Linked DNA regions of Homo sapiens: all the other regions are linked to region 1. The links are contacts of gene promoters, found by promoter capture Hi-C in human tissues and cell types (Jung and others, 2019). All regions are on one chromosome and are shown on one strand. Each heading gives the region's core, a stretch centred on a gene start or on the middle of the fragment in contact. The rest is flanking DNA. Distances are from core to core; before and after follow the strand shown.

Evidence for each region. The method cuts DNA at HindIII sites, captures the fragments that hold promoters and counts their contacts. A contact is called where the count stands out against the background at its distance.
Region 2: a contact is called between a fragment that was not itself captured here and the fragment with the promoter of SDK1 in region 1, in 1 of the 25 tissues and cell types used here (dorsolateral prefrontal cortex).
Region 3: a contact is called between a fragment that was not itself captured here and the fragment with the promoter of SDK1 in region 1, in 1 of the 25 tissues and cell types used here (IMR-90 fibroblasts).

What each region holds. Positions count from the first base shown.
Region 1 is chr7:3,299,053-3,303,244 of GRCh38, forward strand. It overlaps SDK1 (sidekick cell adhesion molecule 1), which reads left to right and starts at 2,200. Exons shown (of 45, transcript NM_152744.4): 1 at 2,200-2,832. The coding sequence starts at 2,535. SDK1-AS1 (SDK1 antisense RNA 1) reads right to left here. Exons shown (of 3, transcript XR_001744897.3): 1 at 3,177-4,192. RefSeq lists enhancers at 767-1,279, 1,280-1,791, 2,501-3,001 and a silencer at 1,677-2,226. The HindIII fragment of the contact is 11,292 bases long and covers 1-4,192 here.
Region 2 is chr7:4,422,724-4,426,915 of GRCh38, forward strand. No RefSeq gene overlaps it. Among named protein-coding and RNA genes, the nearest start is that of FOXK1, 260 kb to the right of the region's middle. The HindIII fragment of the contact is 7,016 bases long and covers 1-4,192 here.
Region 3 is chr7:4,299,892-4,304,083 of GRCh38, forward strand. No RefSeq gene overlaps it. Among named protein-coding and RNA genes, the nearest start is that of FOXK1, 380 kb to the right of the region's middle. The HindIII fragment of the contact is 5,021 bases long and covers 1-4,192 here.

The DNA of each region.
Region 1 (4,192 bases), core at 950-3,449:
GAGTCAGCGATTTGCCCAAATTTCACAACTACAAAGGGCGGAGCTGAGTGAGACCTCAAAGCCCCATGACTCCACTCTTGGATCACCAGCCTCTATCTCCCAGCAAAGCAGAGGTGGTTGGGGTGAAGAGGAAGGGAGGTGAGCTCCCGACCTTGGGCAAAACACTTCACTTCCTTTATTTATTTATTTATTTATTTATTTATTTATTTATTTATTTATTTATTGAGACAGAGTCTCACTCAGTCGCCCAGGCTGGAGTGCAGTAGCAAGGTATCGGCTCACTGCAACCTCCACCTCCCAGGTTCAAGCAATTCTCCTGCCTCAGCCTCCCGAGTAGCTTGGACTACAAGCGCACGCCACTACGCCTGGCTAATCATCTTCTTCTTCTGTCTTTCTTCTTCATTTTCTTCTTTCTTTTTTCTTTTCTTTTTTTTTTTTTTAACTGCAGACGAGGTTTCACCATGTTGGCCAGGCTGGTCTTGAACTGACCTCAAGTGATCCGCCCGCCTCGGCCTCCCAAAGTGCTGGGATTACAGGTGTGAGCTACCGCGCCCGGCCCACTTCTTTATGCCTCAGTTTCTCCATCTGTACCAGGGCCAGCACCTCTCACACAGCAGGTAGTGAAGCTGCTGCTGCTGCTGCCCTGGGCTGGCCTACAGTGAGTGCTCACTGCACAGGAGGTATTGCTTCCCCCCGCCCAGCAGGTTCTCATTATAATCTTGCAAGTTTGAAGAAACCCAGCCTTGCTACCAACAGAAGATAAAAACAGACATGCCTCTCTGCCTCCAGTCTCATCCCCATGTCCTTGGGGAGCTGTCCTCTTCCGGCTCGTCCCATCTATGCGCCCTCACTATATCCTCAGAACAGGGCACTCCGTGGCTCCTTTAACTTTTTTGCCCCTCCTAGCATGGTGTGGAAAGGGGGCAGATGGGAGGCCTCTTTCTGAAACCACCTCCTGTTCGGCGGCTGTACTTGGACCTCAGTTTCCCTGTTTTGTTCACGTGGTCATTGTTAAGTCTTAGGGGACGTGTACAGAGGCTAATATTGAGCCACCAATCAGTTATTTGACAAATACCATAGGCGCTCTGTGAGCAGGAGCTGGCTCCTATCCCAGACCCCAGCCCTGTGACCTGCTCTCCACTCGCCCGGGGTCTTTCTTGGCTGGGACAATAAACCTACTGCATCAGGTGATTCCTGGGGAGTCAGCCCCGTGCTGGGCTCACACCCAGCCCCTCTGCGTTCATCTCTTACATGATCTCATGCGACCATCATCACACGTCCCCAGGCTCCTCCCGGGCCAACTCCAGAGGCAGTGCGTGTCACCTCCAGCTCTCCTCCCACAAAAATGCTGGCCTTTCAGCCTCCAGTGCGCTTAGTTCACCCCATAAACTCTGCTAATGCTTACCACATGCTGAGCGTCGGCGCCCGTCCCCACCCCCAGCCCCACAGGCTCCCGGGTCCCGCCCTGGGAGACCCTCCCACTGGCCGACCCTGCCCCAAGACTCGCCCACTCCACGGTGGGAAACCTGCAATGTGTCCCTCCCTACCCCGCCCTCCTCCAGCGCCGGCCAAAAGTGACCTTGGACGCTTCTACAATGCCATATCCACTCCTCTGAACAGGAGGCGAGTTTGCACCCAGTGGTGCCTTTGGTTGCTAGAAATTAAAAACCCGATTGCGCGTGTTTGCAATTACGGTAACTTGGCGCGTCACCCCCAAGCACTGAGCTAGCTGGTGGTAGCCGGGCGCCTCTCGGGGCGCGCCCTATTCCGCCCTCGGCCCTGGGCTGCCGCACGATCTGCGCGTCCTGCTGCACCTGAGCCCTTCCCACTCGGGCGCCCGCACCGCTGCGGGGCCGGGCGAGGATGCACCACCCCCGCCCGCGAGCCCGCCACGGGAGCGCGTGCCGAATCGACGCCGCCTGCAGTCCCCACTACGGGTCCCTAGGGGGCGCAGCCGGCGCGGGAAGCCGCCCGAGCCAGGCGCCGCGGCCGGCACAAAATTGCAGGCGGGCGGGCGCCGCGACTTTGAAAACAAGCGAGGGCCTGGGGGGCGGGCCCTGGGAGCGGGCGCCGCCTCCCTCGGCCAATCAACGGCGGGCGGCGGGCGGCGGGCGCGGGCGGCGCGTGCGGCCGGGCTGTGAATGGGGAGCGGCGGCCGCGGCAGCTGAGGGCGAGCGCGACCGCGACGTGCGGGCGGGCGCACTTTCTTCTCAGCGCCGGGCGGGGGCGGCGGCGGCGGCGGCTCCTCCGCGCCCGGCGGACCCCTCGGAGCTAGCGCGGCGGGCTCGGGACTGCGTGAGCGCCGGACGCGAATTTCCCCCGTTGACAACTTCTTCTCGCCCGGCTCGTCCCCGGCCCGCGCCGCGCCCCTCACGCGGGGACCCAGGACGCCGCCCCTCAGCGCTGGGCGGCCGCTCACCTCGGGCCGGGGGGCGCCGCGCCTCCCGCGGAGTGGCCGCGCCCGCTCGGAGCCGTCCCGCCTGTCCTGCCCGCCCGTCCGTCCGGCGCGGCGCTCGGGGTGGCGGCTGCTCGGCATGGCCCGGGGCGCCCGGCCCTCGGCGGCCGGTGGCGGCGGCGGCGGCGCGGAGCCCCCTGAGCGCGCGGGCCCCGGGCGGCCGCGGGGATCCCCGCCCGGCCGCGCCCGCCCCTCGCTGGCGCCGCGCCCCGGCCCGGAGCCCTCGCGACCCCGGGCGGCGCCCGAGACCTCCGGCGGGGACACGGCGGGCGCGGGGCGGTGCGGCGGGCGGCGGGCGGCAAAGTTGGGGCCGGGCCGCCGCGGCTGGTGGGCGCTGCTGGCGCTGCAGCTGCACTTGCTCCGGGCGCTGGCGCAAGGTAGGTGCGCGCGGGGTCGCGGGCCGGGGGCGTCGCCTCGGGGCGCGGAGGCGCGAACTTGAGCAGCGAGAGTGTGTCCGGGGTCCCCCCGCTTCCCGGCCCGGGTCGGGATGCGCCTTGCTGGGGGCTCTAGGGAGCCCAGGGGCTCCTCCACGCCAGACTCGGAGGAGAGGGAAACGGAGCCCCGTAGAGCCTGCACCCCGTCTGCTACTTTGCGTTTTATTTTTTTTATACCGCAGTAGCACAAACAAAAATTTTTAAGTTGAGGACCCATTTCTCAGCTCCTTAAAAGGATGCCCGAGTCCCCTTCCCATTGCATGGATGAAAAAGGGGCTGGTCTGTACCTGAGTCTTCGCACCGCAGGGTCTGGTTTCCGGTGAGTGACATCCAGAAGACTTGGAAATATCAAGTGCCAGTCGCTGTGAAAAGCCTTTTCCAGCCCCTCCCCAGGGCCTCGTCCTCTCCCCAGCCCCCGCCTGCTCCTGACTCCCCCAAGTCCCAAAGCCCGACCCCAAGTGGGTGCTGCGCGGCCGGTGGAGCAAAACTTTCAGTGCCCACAGCTTTTGCACTTGGCTTTGTTTTTCTCCCTCTATTGGCTTCTGTTTAGAATACAGTGGTGAGCTCTGAAATAGGGAAAGAGGATCTGCTGAATGGAAATGACCTTTTGAAACGAGAGATGGGATCTCTTGTGAAACGAGCTTTCCTTCCCAAATCTGGGCTTCCCTCCACCCCCTCCCCGCCCCCGACAAAACCCGTAACGTACCCCTGCCAGCTAGCATCGTTTTCTTTTGAAGTTTGCTGGTCTTTAAACCAAAACACCCCCCTCAACCCAGAAATAACTATTTTAATACGTCCTTTGGTAACGTCTTTAAAACACATTAGTGAACTGGTTTTGCTGATGGTAGTTTTAGGAAAATTAACTTAGTTGTATTCCAAGATACAGCTAACGAACAATCATGGTAAGGAACTCGATATTCTGAGATTGGCGAAGATGAGAGCATTAAACTTAAATTAGCTGTGTTCTGTGTCCTGTGAAGATGATTTATGTGTAGTAACATGACTTAAATGTTGTAACATTTTAAAGGTCTGAGCTCAAAACTATCATCCAATAGCTTAACAACGAACTCATACTTTTTTTTATTGATGCTTATGTAACGTTATCTAAATTGTGCCCCTCCACCCCCCTCCAGCTTTCATAAATGCTCCCTCTTATGTTTTACTACATGAAAACAAATTGCCATATTTCTGGTTAATTTAACTCCTCCATTACTTGGAAAATTTTCATTTCACTTATTTGTGCTTTTTGCTTAATGACTTACTCTGGAAGAAAAGCATTTATTAAGTCATTTTGTACAGTGGG
Region 2 (4,192 bases), core at 545-3,044, 1.1 Mb after region 1:
ACTTAAATCTTATGTTTGGGCAGGCCTCCTCTGACACAGCTCTGGTGGGTGAAGGGGGCAGCACTCTCTTACCACCAGGTGGGAGTGGAAGTCCCGTCCCTGCCTCAGCTGTCATTGGCACTACGTGGGGAGGGACTTCTCACTACTGCTGGGCAGGGTGGGAGTTCAGGATCACCCCTGGGCTCTACTGATACTGTCACTGGGAAGTGCAGGAATCCTCAGTTCTTGCCTAATGTGGGAGAAAGAATTCAGCCAAGAGACAATTCGTAATCCAAGCAAAGGTCTTGCTTTTGTTTTTGTTTTGAGACAGAGTCTCGCTCAATTGCCCAGGCTGGAGTGCAGTGGTGTGATCTCATCTCACCGCAGCCTCCACCTCCCAGGTTGAAGTGATTCTCCTGCCTCAGCCTCCCGAGTAGCTGGGATTACAGGCATGCACCACCATGCCTGGCTAAGTTTTGTATTTTTGGTAGAGACAGGGTTTCACCATGTTGGCCAGGTTGGTATTGAACTCCTGACCTCAAGTGATCCGCCCACCTTGGCCTCCCATTATGCTGGGATTATAGGCGTAAGCACTGTACCCAACCTCAAAAGGTTTATTAAGGAGATACAAGCACACCCCAAGAGGGAAGCAGGCTGACCCGTCTGGAAAACAGCTCCAGGCTGGTCAGGCTGGAAACATAGCAGTAGCAGCATTTACTTAAAGGGATGGTGCACTCTGAAAGAGATGAGACAGAGCGGGCTGCTGGGGGACTGTCTTTAGAGAATCTTACATGATTTTTCCTACAGGGGCAGGAGGGGGCGTCACTTGCAATCATGTTTTGGGTAGTCACCTTGGGTTTGCACACTCTGTGGTTGTGCATGCTGGTCCACACATCACATGTCTCATATGCATGCAAAGTCTCCACCCAAGGATGAGCTTTTTATTATCATAATGAGCAACAGGATATCCTCGGGCAAGGTTTTGGAGGAGTGGGCATGCTCATCAGCACGGGAAGTCCCTACCGTGGTTATCTCTGACTAGGGCTCGATAAACCCCGTCGGAGCCGGAAGAGCCCAACCACAAGGCCGGAAGTAGCCAGTGCAGCCTTCATCTTTTTCTCTGACTGTCAAAGGGCAGCATCTCCAAGACGTTTTTTCCCAGGAGCTCCTTTGCCTGTCTATTTCCGACCCTTTACCTCCTCTAACAACACCTTTCTAGCTGAGAGGGGCAAAGGTTCACCATGACTGTTCCCTGTGTGGCCACCATGGACAAGCAGAGGGATGACCTCATTACCGCTGGGCAGTAGTGAAGGCTCTGACTCCTAATAGGCCTCCTCTGACACCAGCCGATTACCAAGCAATTGATGTGCTTGCTGCCCAATGTGCACAGAGGCCAATACCATGGCACCAGCTTTTGAGAAGAGAAAAGCTGGCCGGGCACAGTGGCTCACGCCTGTAATCCCAGCACTTTGGGAGGCCGAAGCGGTGGATCACCTGAGGTCAGGAGTTTGAGACCAGCCTGGCCAACCTGGTGAAACCCCGTCTCTACTAAAAATACAAAATTAGCTGGGCGTGGTGGTGGGCACCTGTAATCCTAGCTACTCAGGAGACTTAGACAGGAGAATCGCTTGAACCTGGGAGGTGGAGGTTGCAGTGAGCTGAGGTCCTGCCATTGCACTCCAGCCTAAGGTACAAGAGCAAAACTCCGTCTCAAAGAAAAAAAAAAATAGAAAAGCTTTATTTGAGTTGACCAGCAAGGAATGGGAGGAAATGCTCCAATCTGTCTCCCTGAGCTGGGGGCTGGGTTGGGCTTTATAAGCATAGGGCAATGAGGTGTGATCTGATTGGATCCTGCCAGAGGGTGATGCCAGGGCTCAATCTCATTGGATCCTTGATCCTGCCATGTGGTGTCTGCTTCTTTTTTTTTTTTTTTTGGGACGGAGTCTTGGAGTCTCGCTCTGTCCCCCAGGCTGGAGTGCATAGGCGTGATCTCAGCTCACTGCAAGCTCCGCGTCCCAGGTTCACCCCATTCTCCTGCCTCAGCCTCCCTAGTAGCTGGGACTACAGGCACCCGCCACCACACCTGGCTAATTTTTTGTATTTTTAGTAGAGACGGGGTTTCACCATGTTAGCCAGGATAGTCTCGATCTCCAGAACTCATGATCCACCCGCTTTGGCCTCCCAAAGTGCTGGGATTACAGGCGTGAACCACTGTGCCCGGCCTTGGGGTCTGCTTCTTAATCCAGTCCACGCTTCTCCTTCCAACCACTTAGGGTACCCTTGTGGCTGCACCCTTGGTTCATCTGGGCATGCTCAGGTTATGTGACCTTCAACCTTGGGCCCCATGGCAACTGAAAAACAACTCACAAGTTTGTTACATGGATGTTGAACCAGGGCCAGCATGGTGGCGCATGCCTGTAATCCCAGCACTTTGAGGTTGAGGCAGGAGGATCACTTATGTTCAGGAGTTCAAGACTAGCCTAGGCAACATAATGAGACCCCCATCTCCACACACACACACACAAAGTTGAACCAGATTGGTCTGATGTGGTTAAAACCCCAGCAAGAAAGGGGAAGAGAGGGTGTCCTGTTGCTCCTGGGTGGAGATGAAGATCCAGGCCCCCTGCGTGGTTTCTACTGACCCAGCATGGTGGAAGAGGGACATGTTGTTGCTACTCAGTGGGGACGAATGTCCTGGTTTCACTCTACGCCTTTGCTGACATCATTCAGTGGGATATGGGTCCTGTCATTACAGCCTGGTAAGGATGGGAGTCTAGGCTCCCCACTCAAGCCTTGCTGGCAGAGTGGACATAGGGGAACACACTATGTTCTGTGGTTATTGGGCTGGGGTAGAGTGATTACTGTCTGAAAGTTTTCTGTCTTGACAGACTTCTCCTTTCCTGGTCCCCTGGCTAGAGAACAGACTTGTATTCAGGCTTTAAAAATTCTGTAGCTATTGGCATTTCCTGTTGCTGGCCCCTCTGATACCCAATCAGAAATAGAAAAAAAAAAAGAAGAAGAAAATGTAGGGAACTGACCATCAAGTCATTCTTTTTTTTTTTTTTTTTTTTTTGGAGACAGAGTCTCACTCCGTTGCCAGGCTGGAGATCTCGGCTCACTGCAACCTCTGCCTCCTGGGTTCAAGCAATTCTCCTGCCTCAGCCTCCTGAGTAGCTGGGACTACAGGCCGCCACCTCCACGCCCAGCTAATTTTTTTGTATTTTAGTAGAGACGGGATTTCACCATGTTGGCCAGCATCGTCTCGATCTGCTGACCTCATGATCCACCCGCCTCGGCCTCCCAAAGTGCTGGGATTACAGGCGTGAGCCACCACGCCCAGCCCACCATGTCATTCTTTGTGTCTGGGAGTCCCTGGCCAGTCTGCCTTCTTCTCTCCCCCTTTCAGAGTCTTCTTATGTTTGTTTTTTGTTTTGTTGTCGTTGTTTGTTTGTTTGTGGCAAAATAAACATAATATAAAAGTTGCCTATTTCAATTACTTTCTTTTTGTTTTTGTTTTTTGGCTTTTGTTTGTTTCAGAGATGGTGTCTCATGCTTTTGTCCATGCTGCAGTGCAGTGGCACAATCATAGCTCACTGTAGCCTCAAATTCCTGGGCTCAAGCAATCCTCCCACCTCAGCCTCCCAAGCAGCTGGGATTACAGGTGCACACAACCACATCTGGCTAATATTTTAAATCTGTTGTAGAGGTCTTGCTATGTTGCTCAGGCTGGTCTCAAACTCCTAGCCCCAAGCCATTTCAACCATTTTTAAATGGTTTACTAGCATTAAGTGCAGTCACCTTGTTGTCTTACGGCTGTCTTGCATTTGACATCCTGGGTTTTTCATTGTAATTGTCAAGATGAATAGGGAAAAGCACGTCTACTCCATCAAGTGGAAGTTAAAGGGATATTTTTAAGACTGCGAGCCAACAGTACACTTCATGGAGAAGCATGAGACAGTATGAAAATGTGATTAGTTCCTTTAAGTCAAAGGGTCAAGATTTGCTCATTCCTTTCCAGTATCGAGTAGATGCTAAGCAATGTGTCCTAATTCAGGTGGAGTTCTGGGCTGGGCACAGTGGCTCACACCTGTAATTCCAGGACTTTGGGAGGTCGAGGTGGGTGGATTACCTGAGGCTGGGCGTTCAAGACCAGCCTGGCCAACCTGGTGAAACCCTGTCTCTACTAAAAATACAAAAATTAGCTGGGTGTGGT
Region 3 (4,192 bases), core at 1,037-3,536, 1.0 Mb after region 1:
CAACCTAGGCAACATAGCAAGACCTCTTCTCTACAAAAAAAATAAAATTAACCAGGCATGGTGGCACATGCCTGTGGTCCCAGCTACTTGGGAGGCTGAGGTGGGAGGATCGCTTGAGCCTGGGAGTTGGAGGCTTCAGTGAGCCATGATCACACCACTGCACTCCAGCCTGGGCAATAGAGTGAGATTCTGTCTCAAAAAAAAAGTAATACAATTAAAAAAGAACAACATCTTGAAGAAAAGGACGGAGCCTGTATTGTCGGAAATTTTCATTAACCAGCAAGGAACTCAAACCCTCAATTTGGCCAGATTTTCTTTCTTTTCCTGTCTTTTTTTTTTTTTTTTTTTTTTTTTGAGATGGAGTTTCGCTCTTGTCACCCAGGCTGGAGTGCAATGGCACGATCTCACTGCAACCTTCGCCTCCCAGGTTCAAGTGATTCTCCTGCCTCAGCCTCCCAAGTAGCTGGGATTACAGGCACCTGCCGCCATGCCTGGCTAATTTTTGTATTTTTAGTAGAGACGGGGTTTTGCCATGTTGGTCAGGCTGGTCTGAAACTCCTGACCTCAGGTGATCTGCACACCTCGGCCTCCCAAAGTGCTGGGATTACAGGCGTGAGCCACAGTACCCAGCCAATTTGGCCAGATTTTCTATCTGCATTTGACATTTAGGCACAGGGAGCCAGATGATAGCAGAGTAAAGTTGTAGCTGGAATAGAAACAAATTTAAAAAGACGAAGATCTGCAGCTGGGAGAAGCACACCTAGCTGTGGGCTGGAGCCTGCACCTGCTACGCGTGAGAGCCTATTCTGCACATTTTGTCCCAACTTCATGTTCAGGTCTGTGGCTGTGGTAGCTTCAAGTTGACCTCAGCAGTTGTTTTTTTGTTTGTTTGTTTTTTGTTTTTTGTTTTTGTTTTTGAGACGGCGTCTCGCTCTGTCACCCAGGCTGGAGTGCAGTGGCACAATCTCGGCTCACTGCAAGCTCCGCCTCCCGGGTTCACACCATTCTCCTGCCTCAGCCTCCCAAGTAGCTGGGACTACAGGCACCCACCATCTCGTCCAGCTAATTTTTTGTATTTTTAGTAGAGATGGGGGTTCACTGTGTTAGCCAGGATGGTCTCGATCTCCTGACCTCGGGATCCGCCCACCTCAGCCTCCCAAAGTGCGGGGATTACAGGCGTGAGCCACCACGCCCGGCCCAGCAGGAGTTTTTAACCCCACAGGCACTCATAAAGACGGGTGCCTGTTCTCTTGGCCAGCCGGTTGTTGCACATTGACCAACATTGCACCGATAACCCTCCCTCTAGAATTTGGGCCAGTTTCCTCTCCTGCTTGGGGATTGCAAACACAAACACCATCCTTAAGTCCCAGAGAGACTGATTTTCAGAGACTAGACTTAAAAGAAGCAAGAAACTCAATTCAAACTTCAAACATTTAAAAAAAACATCATGTTTTCACTAACCTGATGCTTTTTAAAAGGATGAAATAAAAGTCTTTTTCTTGTTCAAGCAAGTCTTTTTCTTGTAACAAGAAAAGTCTTTTTCTTATTCATCAGGGCATCTCATTCCTCCTTTTTTTTTAAAAAAAAAAAAAAAAAGGACAGGGTCTCACTCTGTCACCCAGGCTGGAGTGCAGTAGCAGCATCGTAGCTCACTGCAGCCTCCAACTTTTGGGCTCAAGCGATCCTCCCACCTCAGCCTCCCGAGTAGCTGGGACTACAGGTGTGTGTCACCGTGCCTTGCTATTTTACATGTTTTGTAGAAATGGATCTCACTGTGAACCCAAACACCTGGGCTCAAACGATCTTCCCGCCTTGGCCTCCCAAAGTGCTGGGATTACAGGTGTGAGCCACCACACCCGGCCCTTATTTCTCTTTAATGAATCTGACTGCCCCTTGGTTTCAGCAATTCCGGCTAACGGAGGTTTCACCGGAGACCTGCACTGACACACCCAAGTGTCTTTCTCAGCGCTGGTGACCTGTGGATGCGTCCAGGGCAAAATGCTGAACTGTTATCCTTGTGCTCCGGCCGTTTCCCTCCTCAAACTTCAGGGAGACCTTCTGGTGCAAAACATTGGCAAGAATGTGAGGAGCAAGTGGGACCATCGGGGAGGGGTGAGCGGAGGAGCAGCTGGCTCTTTTTGTTGTTGTTGTTTTTGAGACGGAGTCTCGCTCTGCCGCCCAGGCTGGAGTGCAGTGGCGCGATCTCGGCTCACTGCAAGCTCCGCCTCCCGGGTTCACGCCATTCTCCTGCCTCAGCCTCCCAAATAGCTGGGACTACAGGTGCCCGCCACCAAGCCCGGCTAATTTTTTGTATTTTTAGTAGAGACAGGGTTTCACCATGTTAGCCGGGATCGTCTCGATCTCCTGACCTCATGATCCACCCGCCTCGGCCTCCCAAAGTGCTGGAATTACAGGCATGAGCCACTGCGCCCGGCCTGGAGCAGCTGGCTCTTTACGGCATCTGGGAATTGGAGCCGAGGGGAGGTGGGGTTGTGGCTCTGAAGCCCAGCCATGAACATCCAGGATTCTCTCTCTCCTTCTTATAGCTGATGCGACGAAGTGAGACAAGCCCCAGGTGCCTTTCCCGGCCCTGCACTTTATTGGCACAGGCTACAAGGCCCAGAGCACAGATGAATTTAGAACAGGTATTTAAAAATGTGAAGATTTTACTAGAGTTAGAAATGGTGAGCTGAGGCCTCGCTCACTGCCTGGTCCCGTGCACCTGTGGTCCAGGCCAGGCAGCATGCAGGCAGGTCTGTCTGTGTCACTGTGAATCCTGTGCACCTGTCCAGGGCTGAGGTTCCCAGGGGACTAGAGGTTCAGGCACCGGCTCCAGCCTGGGTCCCTACTTTTTTTTGGGGGGGAGGTAGGGGGGACAAGAGTCTCGCTCTGTAACTCAGGCTAGAGTGCAGTGGCACAATCTCAGCTCACTGCAGCCTCCGCCTCCCAGGTTCAAGCAATTCTCCTGCCACGGCCTCCTGAGTAGCTGGGATTACAGGCACCTGCCACCACGCCCAGCTATTTTTTATATTTTTTAGCAGAGACAGGGTTTCATCATGTTGGTCAGGCTAGTCTCGTACTCCTGACCTTAAGTGATCCGCCTGCCTCGGCCTCCCAAAGTGCTGGGATTAACAGGCGTGAGCCACCACACCCAGCCCTGCCTGGGCCCTTCCAACCCACTGTGTCTCTGCTCTTCTGTGCAAACAATCCCAGCACCAGGAAGGAGCCAGCCCTGCCCCCCGCTGCGGCCCTCTCCATGGGGAACCGTCAGGCCTCTCTGCCTACGCGGTCTCTGCAGATACCTGATGGGTGTGGAACGCCTCTGCCCATGGTTTAATAACTATTAAAACAGCTGTAAATGCTTCCCTGGGCAGTCTCGCTTGGCGGCCCCCAAGTACAGGGTGTTGCTTTTAGAAAGTAAATAAATCTACATACATTCAATCTCCAAAACACATCCTGTTCAACGAAGCTTCAAGAATAGGATAATTTTGCTTTGGAATACAGATGCACTTCACAGCATTTCCCCTGCAGCCCAGGACCGATGAGGATGTTGCAGCCTTCGGTGGTGTGGAAACGGGTGAGGGGTGAGGCGGCGGATAAGGACTTGGACAAATCTTTTTGCAGAGATGTACGTTTCTGCCTCAGGAAGCTGGTGTAAGGATAAGAATGACTCAAAGGTAAGACTTTGTTCTTTTAAACAGATGGAAGCAGTTTCCTCAGTGAATTACTGGAACCTAGTTCTGTTCATTACCTGAATTGTCCTTTTTTTTCTGTTTGATAATAGCTTTTGGTTATTTTTTTTACACACCACTTTTAGGTGGCAGGCAGTGGTTCATGCCTGTAATCCCAGTGCTTTGAGAGGCCAAGGCAGGAGGATCCCTTGAGTCCAGGAGTTTGAGACTAGCCTGGGCAACATAGCAAGACCCCATCTCCACACACACAAAATATATTTTTAAATTAGCTAAATGTGGTGGTGCATACCTATAGTTTCAGCAACTCGGGAGGCTGAGGCGAGAGATTGCTTGAGTCCAGAAGGTTGAGGCTGCAGTGAACCATGATTGTGCCACTGTATTCCAGACTGGGCAACAGAGCAAGACCCCATCTCTAAAGAAAAAAAAATCCACACTTGTATTAAGCTATCCCTCATATACAGTAAACCACACACCTCTTAAATGTACAATTGAGTGCCTTT